Linked DNA regions of Homo sapiens: region 2 is linked to region 1. The links are contacts of gene promoters, found by promoter capture Hi-C in blood cells and fetal thymus (Javierre and others, 2016). All regions are on one chromosome and are shown on one strand. Each heading gives the region's core, a stretch centred on a gene start or on the middle of the fragment in contact. The rest is flanking DNA. Distances are from core to core; before and after follow the strand shown.

Region 1 (6,616 bases), core at 548-3,047:
ATCTCCTTTTCCTGACTGAATACTCCCTTCCCCCACTAACATCTTCCCACGTTCGCTTAGCTTCTTTCTCTCTTTCCCTTTCCTCATACACACAGATTCAGACACACACCTTCCCACCTCACACCCATATGCAAAATAAAATTAGAAATACCACCCGACTCACAAGGTATTTGGGGAATGGAGATCTTCAGTCAGTATACCCAAACCCAAGCACCCCAGCCAGCCTCCCTCCCTGCCAAGCCCATGTGAGAGGCAGACAGAGCTTGTGAAAAGGGGCCCAGACGGCCACGATTATGAGACAAAGCTGCTCTGAAGGGAAAAGGGCCATGTGTGCCTCCCCATGTCTGTCCTGTGGCCACTGGAACTCACAAGGCTACCAGCTGCTCACGGCCACCATGTGGCATATACTGTTCTTTCACTTACATGTCAGATCCTTTTAGAATGTGAAAAGGTTTCCTGGCCTCTTTTTTATTTTGATGTATGCTGATAAATTACAGAGGAAACAGTGTGTGGTTATTCAAGAATAGAGGCTGAGCTGATCAGCATATGGCCCTCATTTCAAGGGATTGCTCTTGTTTTAATCAGCCAGTTGAGAAAGCAATAAATGTTTATTTATTAAGTATGCCATCACCGAGAGGAGAGGAACAGGGCAGGTAGGTGAGCTGCGACACCCAGGAAATTGAGGATGGTGATGGCACCAATATTCCTGCAGTGTTTGATGTTTTTAAGGCTCTGCTCCCCCCACCCCCCACTGTTTGATACACATTGGTGTCACTACCCTCTTGGCGCATCACAGTACCCACCTTAGAATAGCGGAGCCCTGGAAGGGGAAGGAAATAGAAATAAGAAGGTGGGGGTGAGGCTCAAAGAAGAAGCTCCAAGTTCAAGCTCTGTGTCTGGATAAACTCCCATTGTCTTTCCTTCTCTCAAATCAGAGCTGCCCGTGGGTCCCAGGGTGATGCTGGGCTGTGTAGAGGCTGAGTGCAGGAGCATTAATGCTAGAACCAGGTTCAAGTCCAGGCTCTGTCACTTAATGGCTGTATGACCTTAGACATGAGACTTAGCTTCTCTGAGCTTCAACCTCCTCATCTCCAGAATGGGGCTCAGCCAGCTTCACAGATCAGGCTGAGAGGATTAAGGAAGCATCTTATGCTAAAGGCTTAGCACAATGCCTGCTACCTAGTAGGGGCCCGATAAGTAGTGTCTAATTATGATCTAATCAAGCAGTGCTTGCCCTGGGCAGGCCCTGTTTAAGGGTTTTACATAGATTGTCATTTAACCCTCATATCTCTATTTCACAGATGAGGAAACTGGAATCTAAGATCACACTGGAATTTACAGACGAAGAAACTGGAATCTGAGATCTCACAGTAGTGAATGGTGAATATTCAAACCCAGGTAGACAGGCTCCAGAGTCCCAACTCCCAACCCTCTGTACACAGCCCTTCCGAGGAGATGACGCTGATCTTCATGGGTGTTGCCCTGGCAAGCTGACCTCTCAAGCCCCCAGGGTTCCTTCAGTCCGAGTGGAGAGCAGGGAAGGTCGTGGGACCTAGCCGAGAGGGAAGGGCAGGATGATGGCTGGAGAATCCACATCAGGGCTGAATCCCAATCTCCCAGCTGGAACGGGCGCTGAAACCAGGCAGGGCGCCCCAGCCCGCTCAAGGGGAATCGAGAGGGGAGGAGGGGGCAAGTCCACGATGCTGAGACTGGCGGCCAGAGCACCGCCCCCAGGAGCGGAGGGAGGGGTGGCGGGGCTGGGGGGTGCCCAGCTGCCATCCCCGCCGCTTCCTGGCCCTTACTCGCTGGCGCCCAAGTGGGAAGCCAGCAGCTGCCCGCTCCCTCCTCCCCACATCCCCGCTACTTGCCCAGTTCCCGAAGCGAAGCGCAGGCTGCGAGCCAGCCGGGCCGAGTCCACAACTTTGCAGCCTCGGGCAGGGCGAGAGCCGGCGTCCGGGGCTCCTCTTGTCGGCGACCAGAGCTCGGTGAGTTGATTTCCTCACCCCTCTGCGACGGCGGCAGTGCGGCGGCGGCGGCGCGGGGGGCGGCTTCCCGTGCGTCCGGGAGGCAGTGGCCGAGAAGCCCGCGGCTGCCGGCGCTGCCGGTCTTTCCAAGGCTCCGGCTGTGCCGCCCTCTGCCGCGGGCGAGGCGGGCGCCAGGGCTGAACGGACAGCTCCCTACACCCCGGGGCCCCACGGGCGGTCTCTGCTGTCCCTTCTCCCGCGCAGGGCCAGGGCTGAGGCTGCCTGCCGAGCGCCCCTCACTCCCCTAGCCCCTGTCCTTCGCCGCCTTCCCAGCGCTGCGGCGCATCTGGCTGCTCCCGCGCCCCCCTGGCGACCGGCGCCGGGAAGGCACTTGCTTCGCCGGAGCCCCAGGCCGAGGGCTCTCTGGGGTGGGCAGCACCGCCGCAGCCCCCGGCGGCGCAGGACTGGGGGCGTGCCCAGCCCCCGGCGACCACCCTCAGGCGTGCACTGCGCTGCGCCCCAGCGGTAGGGAGAGGCCCACGCTCTCCGCGGAGGCTGCGGGTTCCCGGGGGGCGCTGGGACCTGCAAAGGGGATTCCAAGGTGACCAGTCGACCCGTGCGGACGGGACAGCCTGGACGGAGGCCCCGTGGCATCCACCCATCCTAGGTGCAACCGCCTTCCCAGAACTTTTCTCGCGCCTCCGGCTGGCCGATTCCTTAGCCCCTGGAAAAGTTCTCTCGGGCGCACGGAATCCTATTTCTCGGTGGCTTCCGAAGCTGGCCAGGAACCCCGGCTGTGAGGCGTGGGGTGGGATGGGGACGTGGTGAGGGCTGAGCACGGCGGCGGGGTCGATCCCAGGAAAGGCTGGCCAAGCATCCACTCGTGCGCCCAGGGCGGGCTTGTCGGCATGGAAAGGATTTCGGCGCCATGAGGGTTGTTTGGGTTTCTCTCAGCAGGAGGGCGGGAGGCGGGCGCGAAGGGGGGATTTTAATTTCGCCTCAAATGAAAACGCTCTTCGCAAAGAAATAGCCCGGGCAGCCAGCGTTGGAGAGATGTGCTGGCCAGGACCCGCTGACACAGGTATTCTGGTTGCGCCCCCACCTCACCCGGTGCCCGAGAGCGAGTGTGAGTGTATCGATTGTTTCAATTGATTTTTTTAAAGCTAGATAGCAGAGGCTGCGTGTCTGTACACGCAGATATATACATACACAAATACAGATACTCAAGCGCACACAGATTACACGTACAGAGTCACAGACAAGGACACACACACACACATCGTGGTCCCTCACGCACACATACCTCCAAAGAGCCTTGGGTAACCTGGTGAGGTCCCTGAGTGCTGCCCAAGATGTGTGTGTGGGTGGGGACGCAGGGACGGAGAAAGGGGAGTGTGAAGCAGGATTTCCAGCAGGTCAAGTGCCGCTGATTCTCCTGCCCCCGACCCCAAATCCTTCCCTTTCTCCTCCTAGGGAGGTCTGAACCAGAAATCCCAAACCTGGGCTTGTTTCCACATCCACAGAGGGGAGGAGTCCTATCCCCCGGTGCCCCCCACCCTCACAACTCCTAAAGACTGCAAACGAGTCCCTCCCTCCTGTGCCAGACTCTGCCGCGCCAAGGCGCCGAGCTCGCTCAAAACCCCAGGCAACACTCACCCCCAGGTGGGGCCTAGACCCGAGGCCGCTGCGGGCTCGGGTCTCTGGCCTGCCTGATCCGGGGTTAGGGAACTGGGGAGGGGAAATCCGCGGGACAGGGGGTTGGGGGCGTGGAGTCGCGTGCAGTGCCCCAGACGCGCGGCACGGAGGAGCGGGCGAGGGCGCCCCCTGGACGCCGTAGTCAGTCAGTCCTCTTCTCACCCCGGGCCCCGCAGGAATGTAATCGAGGATGCTGGCCCTGCGGCTGCTCAACGTGGTGGCCCCCGCCTACTTCTTGTGCATCTCCCTGGTGACCTTCGTGCTGCAGCTCTTCCTCTTCCTGCCCAGCATGCGCGAGGACCCCGCGGCCGCCCGGCTCTTCTCGCCCGCCCTGCTCCACGGGGCGCTCTTCCTATTCCTCTCGGCCAACGCCCTGGGCAATTACGTCCTTGTCATCCAGAACTCCCCAGACGACCTGGGGGCCTGCCAGGGGGCCTCGGCCAGGAAGACTCCATGCCCCTCACCTAGCACCCACTTCTGCCGAGTGTGCGCCAGAGTCACCCTGAGGCACGACCATCACTGTTTCTTCACCGGCAACTGCATCGGCAGCAGGAACATGCGCAACTTCGTCCTGTTCTGCCTCTACACCTCCCTGGCCTGCCTCTACTCCATGGTGGCCGGCGTGGCCTACATCTCCGCTGTCCTTTCCATCTCCTTCGCCCACCCCTTGGCCTTCCTCACGCTCCTGCCCACCTCCATCAGCCAGTTCTTCTCCGGTGAGTGGGCCTTGGCGGGCAGGTTGGGCTCTACACAAAGACCTCCCACCCCAAAGGTTGCCGGGCCCCAAACCCCAACCCCAAAAGTTGCCAGATTTAGCAAATAAAAATACAGACCGTCCCGCTAAATTAAAATTTCAGATAAACAACTCATAATTTTTTAGTATAATTATGTCCCAGATATTGTATGAGATACACTGAGAAAATTTGCTATTGGCTATCTGAAATGCAAATTAAGCGGACATGCTGTATTTTATTGGTAACATCCCCCCTTGCCCCCATCATTCTCATCCATCATGCTGTCCATATGCTCACAGAGTTGTGGCATCCAGGTAATACACCTGCTCTGTGCCAGGCAGGACTAGGTGCTGGCCATTCCTCCATGTAGCCCCATGAGGTACAACCATGCTATGACATTCCTCTGCCTGGTCCCCAGTTCTGCTTACATGTCACCCAAGGACTCTGCTCTCCAGAGGTCTCACCAACCAATTGCAGTAATATTGAACTTGTTGCCAGCCCAGCCCAGCAGGAGGCTAAGCTCTGTCCTCCTGCCTATTATGTTTGACCTCACCAGCCTGTTCTCCAGCCTGCTGATGGCTCAGAGCAGAGGGAACGTGGGTGGGAGAGGCAGGTTTTTTGTTTTTTTTTTTTAAGACAGAGTCTCACTCCATCACACAGGCTGAAGCGCAGTGGTGAAAGCAATCTCTGCTTACTGTAACCTCTACCTCCCAGGTTCAAGTGATTCTCTTGCCTCAACCTCCCGAGTAGCTGGGATTACAGGTGCGTGCCACCACGCCACACTAATTTTTGTATTTTTAGTAGAGATGGTGTTTTACTGTGTTGGCCAGGCGGGCCTTGAACTCTTGACCTAAAGTGATCCGCCCACCTTGGCCTCCCAAAGTGCTGGGATTTACAGATGTGAGCCACTGCGCCTGGCTGAGGACTGCACTTTAACTAGTATGCACCAAGGACCACTACCTGATACCTGGCCCTAGAAGGACTCAGCTCCTGGTGGCAGTTCTTACCACTTTATTTGGCCTTGAGACTGGCTCCTACTGCGTTTCCTTCCACTTCCTCCCTACCCTGGCCTTTGACTCTGAATGGCTTAGCTTCCACAATCAGTAGTGTCTACGTGCTTGAGTGTGCATGTATAGCATTGCTATCTCCATTTCTCAGATGATGAAACCGAGACTCAGACGGGACTAAGTGGCTTGCCCAGTGTCTTCCTGCTACTGAGTGGCAGTCTCTGGTCTGCCTCTCAGGTCCTTAATCCACAGCTCTTCTGCAGTGGCTCAGGGAATAGAACATGCTTCCTCACCTGTTGGCCTTCTAGGAGCAAAGAAAGGCAGAGGGCAGCTACTTCCTCTGAAAGCCCAAGATTGTTTTGAGGTGCCTGGGCTGAACATTCATAAAAATTCTGCTCTACTCTGGGGGAAGCCATCATTTCAGTCTTTGTGGTGGCTACAGCCCAGTTCTTCCCAGGCATAGAACTATCATGCCATTTGGCAGTGGGAACACAGAGATACAGGGGGGACCCAGCTACGGGGGCTGCCTTCAGGGCTGGTGGCTGAGCTGGGTCCAGAACTCACAGCTTTCAGGCCTTCTGGATCCCAGCACTGGCACAGGAGGCTGCCGGGACCAAAATAACCAGGACGGGGGAGGGTGGGTGGGTGGGCTAGTGGGTGGAGTGTGAGCACAGGCAGGTGGAGGGATGAAGAGAGCCAACAAGCCTGCTTATACTTTCTTTTCCAAGTAGTTTCGCCAACCGTAAAAATGGATGGTTCCAGAAGGAAGACCTTGAAATGGTTTGATTTGAGATAAATCTGGGCTTGAGGCCTGTCCATATGTGCTAGGTTTGATCTGATGGGAGAACAGAGCCAGTGAGTGCCCACCTTGGGGCCCAGACTCCTGTGCCAGCATGAGTTCCAGTGTCTTTCACTTCCTCACCATATCCACTGGAAACAGGCGAGCAAGACTTCTTACCTCCAACTCTCCTATCTCATCTTTTGTGACCTTTCATCTTTCCTCTTGAGGACCTTCCTTTCTTTCCCTCCCATGACATACACCCCACCTGTTTGGCTTTCCCTTTCCCATTCCTCTTGTTCCCCAACCCTCAATCCGAACAGTTGGTAGCACCCTCTCTCATCTGCACAGGAGGACAGGTGGACAGAAAAGAGTAAGAAGCATGGGTTGTTTAATAGAAATTGAGTTCAAGATCAGCCTGGGCAAGATGGTGAGACT
Region 2 (7,056 bases), core at 4,557-7,056, 150 kb before region 1:
ATGGGGCAACCATTATATATGCAGTTTGTTGTTGACCAAAATGTCTTTATGTGGCATATGACTATAAATTGGTCATATTTTATCCAATTGGGGTTATAAAAACTCATTTGTGAGAGTTCTCTACTTGTCTACATAATTGGCATAATTGGACGTATATAGTCTCTATCCTGGGAGCATTTATTTTGCGGCCCTGGTTTGAATTCTGTCTCCCCAACGCATAAGCTGTGTGACCTTGAGCAAATTACTTAACTTCAGTTTCCTTGTAAGTAATGTGGGGATAACCATAGTACCTATGGCATAGAGCTGTAATAATGGTTAAATGAGATAAGACTTGCCCAATGCTTAGAACAGTGCCTGGTAATAAATGGTAGCCATTTTCAGCATCAGCATTTCATGAGCCTTTTCCCATGTTGCTAAAAAAATGCTCTGAAACATTTTTTATGGCTGTATAATATTCTATCCCAGGACATACTATCATGTTAACTATTTTTCTATTACTAGACAGTCATACTGTTTCCAGATTTTTTGTATAAAACGTGAGTTAAATTCTAGGACAGGATATCTGTGGAGCTTTTTCGTTTCATTTGGCCACATTATAGAAAATATAATAGCATGAATTTTTCATTTAGAAAGTTTGAGGCATGATCTTAATTACTTTTTTTTTTCCCAAGATAGAGTCTTGCTCTGTTGCCCAGGCTGTAGTGCAGTGGCGCGATCTCAGCTCACTGCAACCTCTGCCTCCTAGGTTCAAGCGATTCTCCTGCCTTAGCCTCCTGAGTAGTTGGGATTACAGGCGCGTACCATGCCCGGCTAATTTTTGTATTTTTAGTAAAGACGGGGTTTCACCGTGTTGGCCAGGCTGATCTCAAACTCCTGACCTCAGGTGATCCGCCCACTCTGGCTTCCCAAAGTGCTGGGATTACAGGCATGAGCCACCACACCCGGCCTTAATTACTTTGAAAATGCACTTAAATCCTCATTCTGTTTTTGTGTTGGAGTCAGTTATATAAGGCCTCATGGTTCCTCCCTCTAGAAGGCTGGATGGAACTTTTAGGACAAGATGCAGAAAGATACAAAGAAACAAAAAGGCTCTTGTGGGACAAAGCTTCTAAATGCAGAAGGAAGGAGAGAATCTCACTCACCAGTGCTACATATGAGCCCCATTGGGAAACATGGCCCCTCAGGTTGGTGGCTGGGGATTCTGAAATTGGCTTAAGCAACATTGGTTTGAGGTTGATTGTCCTTGGCCAGCTGTGCTGATAGTGATGGTATTCTCCCTCCTGCTTCCTCTTCCCTCCGCCCCCACCCCCCACCCAGGTCACCACCTATTTGCACAAGGACTACAACAACCTGTGGATTATCAAGAAACATAACACAAACTCAGGTAATGTGGTCAGAGACTGATGCTTCTTGTGCTGTTACTCCCTCTGAGCCCTCCTTAAGATTTCTCATGCCTGCAAAAGAATGATCCTGAGATGGGCTTTGCTGAGCATCTTTGACACCTTTACTTATCTCAATTATCCTTTCAATTATTATTTATTAAGCACCTACTGTGTTCCAAGCACTGTTGTTGGCATAGGGGATAAGCATTGAGCAAAACAGGTAAGAACTTGCTCTTAGAGCTGTCATTTTGAAGACAGATAGCGGAGCCCAGATTTAATCTAAGTAGAGGTTACTTGAGCATGCCACTAGGGGCTGGTGAGTGGCCCCAGCTGAGGGCACCTGGCTGCTGCTCTCATTTCTTACATAGAGCACACCAAACATTGCACACTCTAGCATGTGGTGCAGCTTAAGTCGTCTTGATAAGATAGAATCCTGCCCACTGCTCAGCCCTGGCCTGAGTCAGTCAGTTGATCTGAGGGGCTACTAGTCCTGTGACTGGAATTTGTCTAGGCTAATTCCTGAGATGTGACTCGATGCCTGCTGATCTGCTTCTAACTGGCCTGGGTGAAGGCGCTCTGAAGCACACCTATCAGGCTCTCAGGGCTTTATGACAGAGCAAGAGCTAGAGCCAGATCTTCCTTTCTTTGGTCAGACAGCTAGCTACCTGCAGGCTGTGCCTCTGCTGCAGCTAAGAGAACAGAGGGCATCTTCCACTCACCTTCCGAGCCTGTCATCTCTGCTGACAGTCCTGTGCCACAGGTATCTCTGTGACTCCTCAGCAAATCCCACCTGGCTTAGCCTATCCCAGCTCAGCTGCTCCTAGGCCTTTGTAGAGAAATGGGCAGCTGCTCACCTAAATCCACCTCCTCTTATTGCTGTGTAGGCTAGAAACGTGGCGTATACAACCACTTTCTACATCCTGCTCCTTAGTGGGATAAATTACGACACCATTGGGCAGAGTCTGTTTCTATACTTTTATAATGGATATTGATTGATTCAGCAGGCCAAACGTGAGTGTTCTATCACAGTGAGGAGTTACGAGGGAAGACCAGTTTTACTTCCGTCATGTGGTCATGAACCAAGTCTTTGAACATTCCTAGTCTGTTATTCCATTGTGACTTCTGAGTTAAGATGGTTGCATTTCATCGAAGTGATTAAGGATTTTGTGGGAGCTTTATAGACTAGGGTCTTTGTGTTCTTGAAGGCTATAAATGCCCCTCCCCACCAAATGCATATGAAATAAAACCTCCCTCCCTATTGACTTAGTTGATTTGTCATCTTGCTAATTAATGCTTTTAAGAGACCCTAACAGGCAGCATGGAAATGGGTGTCTCTGCGGTTGAGTTCTCTGATTCTCTTGAGAGCCAGTGATTTGCACTGGCAAATTTATCTTTCCTGACCTTGATCAATTTATAGTGTGTTGGTATCTCACTGTTTGGGACAGAAATTTGCAAGGATCCATTCTGTGTTGCTATGATTACTGCCAGCTCCTTTTCCATGTCATCACCTTTCTAGATCCTGATTGGTCTTGATTTTGAGATGATACAGAAGTAGTCCTTTAATCATTTCATCATTATTCACCTCACATTTAGCAAGTTTATTGCCAGAGACAAGATACTCGCTGGCAAGATTGTCAGGGTTTATTTGATTTTGAGGAGAGTTGGGCAAGTGGTCATTTGTATGGAATTACTTTTTAGAAGGCTGTTATTACTACTAAAGTCTTACTATTTAGCTTCCCAGCTTAAGCTCCAGTGGGGGCTTCAGTGCCTCATCGGGTAAAGGCCACATTCCAGCCTGGAATATGCAGTCTGGCCACACTCGTTCATAGCCTCATCTGTTCCCACTCTCCCCCACCCCACCCACCCTTACAGTATGAAACCCATTTGCTATTCATCGAAGGAGTTTTTCTTCTTCTTTTTTTTTGGAGACAGAGTCTTGCTCTGTCACCCAGGCTGGAATGCAGTGGCGCAATCTCGGCTTACTGCAACCTCCGCCTCCCGGGTTCAAGCGATTCTCCTGCCTCAGCCTCTCGAGTAGCTGGGACTACAGGCGTGCACCACCACGCCCGGCTATTATTTGTATTTTTAGTAGAGATGGGGTTTCACCATGTTGGCCAGGCTTGTCTCGAATTCCTGGCCTCAGGTGTTCTGCCCGCCTCGGTCTCCCAAAGGGCTAGGATTACAGGCGTGAGCCACTGTGCCCGGCCAGAAGTTTTCTTCTTTCACACTTCTAGTGCCTTTCTCCTGCTTGTTCACCTGACAAAATTCTCCCTTTCCCTTAAGAGTCTTTTCGAGCATTATCTCTGGGACACCCTTCTCTAATACCCTGAAGCAATTTAGGGGTCTTTCCTCTTTGGTCTCAGAGTACCTGGTTAGTACCTCTAGCAGATACCACATGGTACTATAACTGTTTACCAGTAGGCCCTTGATTAATACTAGCCTGGTGAGTGATTTTGGATATCAATGCTTGTTTCTTTTTGGCAGATCCCCTAGACCCTTCCTTCCCAGTGGAGTTTGTAAGACATGGAGACATTATTCGACTAGAACACAAAGAGTAAGTCAATTTGCAGTTTGGATAAATAAATGGTACGGGCACCAAGGGGAGGGAGTTATTTTAAGAAGTAAACAGAAGTTAGATTTTGATGAGGCTCTGGTCAATGGAGCAAGGCCACAGTGCGAGAATGGGAGAAGCATTTTATGAAGGTGATGAAATTGCAGGCCAGCCTTTGCCTGCCTTCTGGGGACCTTTCAATTTCCCATTTCCTAGAGGAAAATTTGAGTTGCTGAAAGCTGCTGCTGCTGTTTTTTTTTGAGACAGAGTCTCACTATGTTACCCAGGCTGGCCTCAGAGTCCTGGGCTCAAGCGATCCTCCCGCTTCAGCCTCCCAAATGGTTGCTATTACAGGCATGAGCCATCACACCCAGCTCCCAAAGCTTCTTCTTAAGTGGCTGCCTTTAGAAAGACGTAGGAGTCTGTTTCTGAGAATATGGCAAGCTAGCTTATTTAACCAGTGTTCTCACTGAAAATGACTAAAAATGCTGGAATAATATAAAGACTTCTTAAGAGCATAAAAAGGCTGACAAGATATTAAAGAGTTACCAGGCCAAAGCCTAAGTGAAATGAGGAATCCAGAGAAATAAGTGAGACACTGAAGCCACTTTTGCTTTGATCCCACAATCTTGACTTTTGGCTGTCTCTTGAGAGAAGAGGTTTTAAAGTCAAACCTAGGCTCACCCAAAGTGGTAAATTTATTAAGTTATCCTTCCCCATATTTGGAACCCCCAAAGGCTTGGGGTAAGGGTAAATCTGCCCTATCCACTTATGCCCAGGTCCACTTTAGGACCCAGCTAAGTGTTGGGGGTTGGGTGGTGAACTGTCCTTAGTTCCTGAGAAGTTGGAACTACCATTTGATCCTCACATGAACTTGGAGCTCAAATTCATGTTGCCTGGGTGATCTCAGAATCTCCAAGACATGAATTTAAATGAACATGATCCTAGATTGGTCGTGTCTCCTAGGTGCATGGCTAAAAGCAAATGTAAGCCCTCTTTGGGGAAAGTCGTTGTCATTTGTTCCCATAGTTTTTTAGTGACAATAGTACACACCCAAAAGTAACAAAGCACACAAGGAAATAGGGCACTGTGTGCAAGAACAAGCTGAAACGACAGACAGCAGGAGCAGCCCCGTAAACATTTCATAGACTGGAATTATCGGATACAAATTTTTAAAAATCAGAGGTGTGTATGTGTGTGGGTATATATATATATATATAGAGAGAGAGAGAGAGAGAGAGAGAGACAGAGACAGAGAGAGAAGCAATTAGCTATGGTTTTTTTTTGAGTCAGCTGGATTTTGAATACTTAAAATTTTTATTTTATTAAATAAATTTCATTTGTCATTAATAAAAATTTATTGTAATTAAATTTTACTTTTGCAAATTTTCAGAAATTTTATAATGAACATTTATTATTTGTTCCAGATAAAAGTGAGAGTTGTTATATAAAACTAAATAAAAGCTAAATTAAACCCCTCTCATCCTCCACAGATGTCCACTTAAAAAAATCTGGCGATGGGAGCAGAAAGAGTAAGTGGCAGTGAGGAGGTTACCTAGCTCAGGCCATGCAGATTACAAGTTTTAATTTTTCCTCTCCTCAAACCTGCCTCCTAAGTCAGGCAAGCTAAGTGCTTCAAAGCTACTAAATGTGTGAAAGTCGCCCCCCACCTCCCTGCCAGCACCTAAAGTTAGCCCCTTTCTTGGCATGCCGTCCAGTGCTCCTACCATCTGTCTCTCCTGGTTTGGGCTCATCTCTTCTCCAGTTCTCAGGATATTTCTTGTGAGTAAATAGGAAACCAGTTCCTGATATGTTGGATTTAATAGTTCAGATTCTAATTTTTCTTATCCTGACAGTTGACTCTGAACATCCTTGGTAAAAGAAGAAATGTTGCACATCATCTTTCTATAGGATAATGACACTTCTCTTTTCTAACTTCTAGAACTTCCCGGAACTTGCACAGTCACTATCATGAGGCCCCCATGACCCGGAAGCACTATCAGGTCACCGGCTATGGCATAGTAAGTAAGCAACGGGGATGTGAGTAGGACGTAAAAGTTATGGGCCTTGGCTCAGGGCTGTGTGGTGGGATATCTCCTCCCCAGAATTCTGGAATGTTCCTGAGGATAAGAGGCTGCACAGGGACTCTCTTAACATTTGGGCACTTTTTGGCTAGGCCTGCTCTGGGAAAAGCAGCCTATGAAGTCTGTTTGTCTCCATCTCTCTCCTCACATAATAACCATGCCATTTACATGCTCTGATACTTAATAAATGTCAAATATGAATACTATTTGGATCTCTTTTAAAATCACATTGGACATAGAAGCCAAGGACCCACAATATGACCCCAGATGAACAACATGTATGTTTATCTTTTGCCAGATCCCAAATTCTCATTAGCTTTATTTTTAAGTATCATTTCCCTGTTCTGCAGAGGGATATTATCCATAGCTTTTGTATTTTACTACCTCAAGGAGATGCAGCTAATAAATAAAAGCTCTATGAGTACTTATGGCTTTGGGAGTAACTGAAGACAAAAACTACTAGTGGAAAACTGTATACAGATTCTGGCCTTCAGGTGGATTTCCCAGCCCTCTTTCTGTTTGCTCATTCCACATTGTGCTAGGTCAAGACTGTGAACATTCTAATCTTCTTTGTGGGCATCTTCTGAGAAGAATTAGACATACATGTCTTAATTTCCAAAGTGCAATAGCCAGGCCAGACCTTTCTGGCTTAGATGAGTGAATACCTAGATAGCCAAGGTAATGGATGCAAATGGCCCAGATCTGTTTCTGTTGGCTCAGAGTGATGTCTTGAGTTTGGTTGAAGGGCAAAGACAGGTATTTAGAACTTGAACTCTAGTTCTATGAAGTGAAGAGTTGGACTCCTGGACTTCTGGTTCCAGGAGTCATACTACTGTTTTTTGGTTGTAATAGTGAGTTTTGGGACAATGCCAATCACCTGGGATATTTCTTTGGCCTTCTTGTAACCTTGCCCATCTCTATCATTGAGCCTAATTTGGTCTTTGACCTTCATAACATGGTGGCATCTGGGTGGCCATTTCCCTTTCTGACACGTTTTCTCTAAAGTCCCCTCACTTTCTTTGTATTTTTTTCTTGGCTT

The links. Contacts are between HindIII fragments. The CHiCAGO score rates a contact against its expected background, and 5 or more counts as called.
Region 2: a contact is called between a fragment that was not itself captured here and the fragment with the promoter of ZDHHC22 in region 1, in 1 of 17 cell types (erythroblasts). The highest score is 5.3, in erythroblasts.

What each region holds. Positions count from the first base shown.
Region 1 is chr14:77,136,972-77,143,587 of GRCh38, reverse strand. It overlaps ZDHHC22 (zDHHC palmitoyltransferase 22), which reads left to right and starts at 1,797. Exons shown (of 3, transcript NM_174976.2): 1 at 1,797-1,985; 2 at 3,836-4,375. The coding sequence starts at 3,850. RefSeq lists enhancers at 1,683-2,184, 2,279-2,842, 2,843-3,406, 3,544-4,093. The HindIII fragment of the contact is 23,253 bases long and covers 1-6,616 here.
Region 2 is chr14:77,285,642-77,292,697 of GRCh38, reverse strand. It overlaps POMT2 (protein O-mannosyltransferase 2), which reads left to right. Exons shown (of 21, transcript NM_013382.7): 10 at 1,318-1,384; 11 at 3,867-3,936; 12 at 5,876-5,954. Among named protein-coding and RNA genes, the nearest start is that of NGB, 18 kb to the right of the region's middle. The HindIII fragment of the contact is 2,976 bases long and covers 4,319-7,056 here.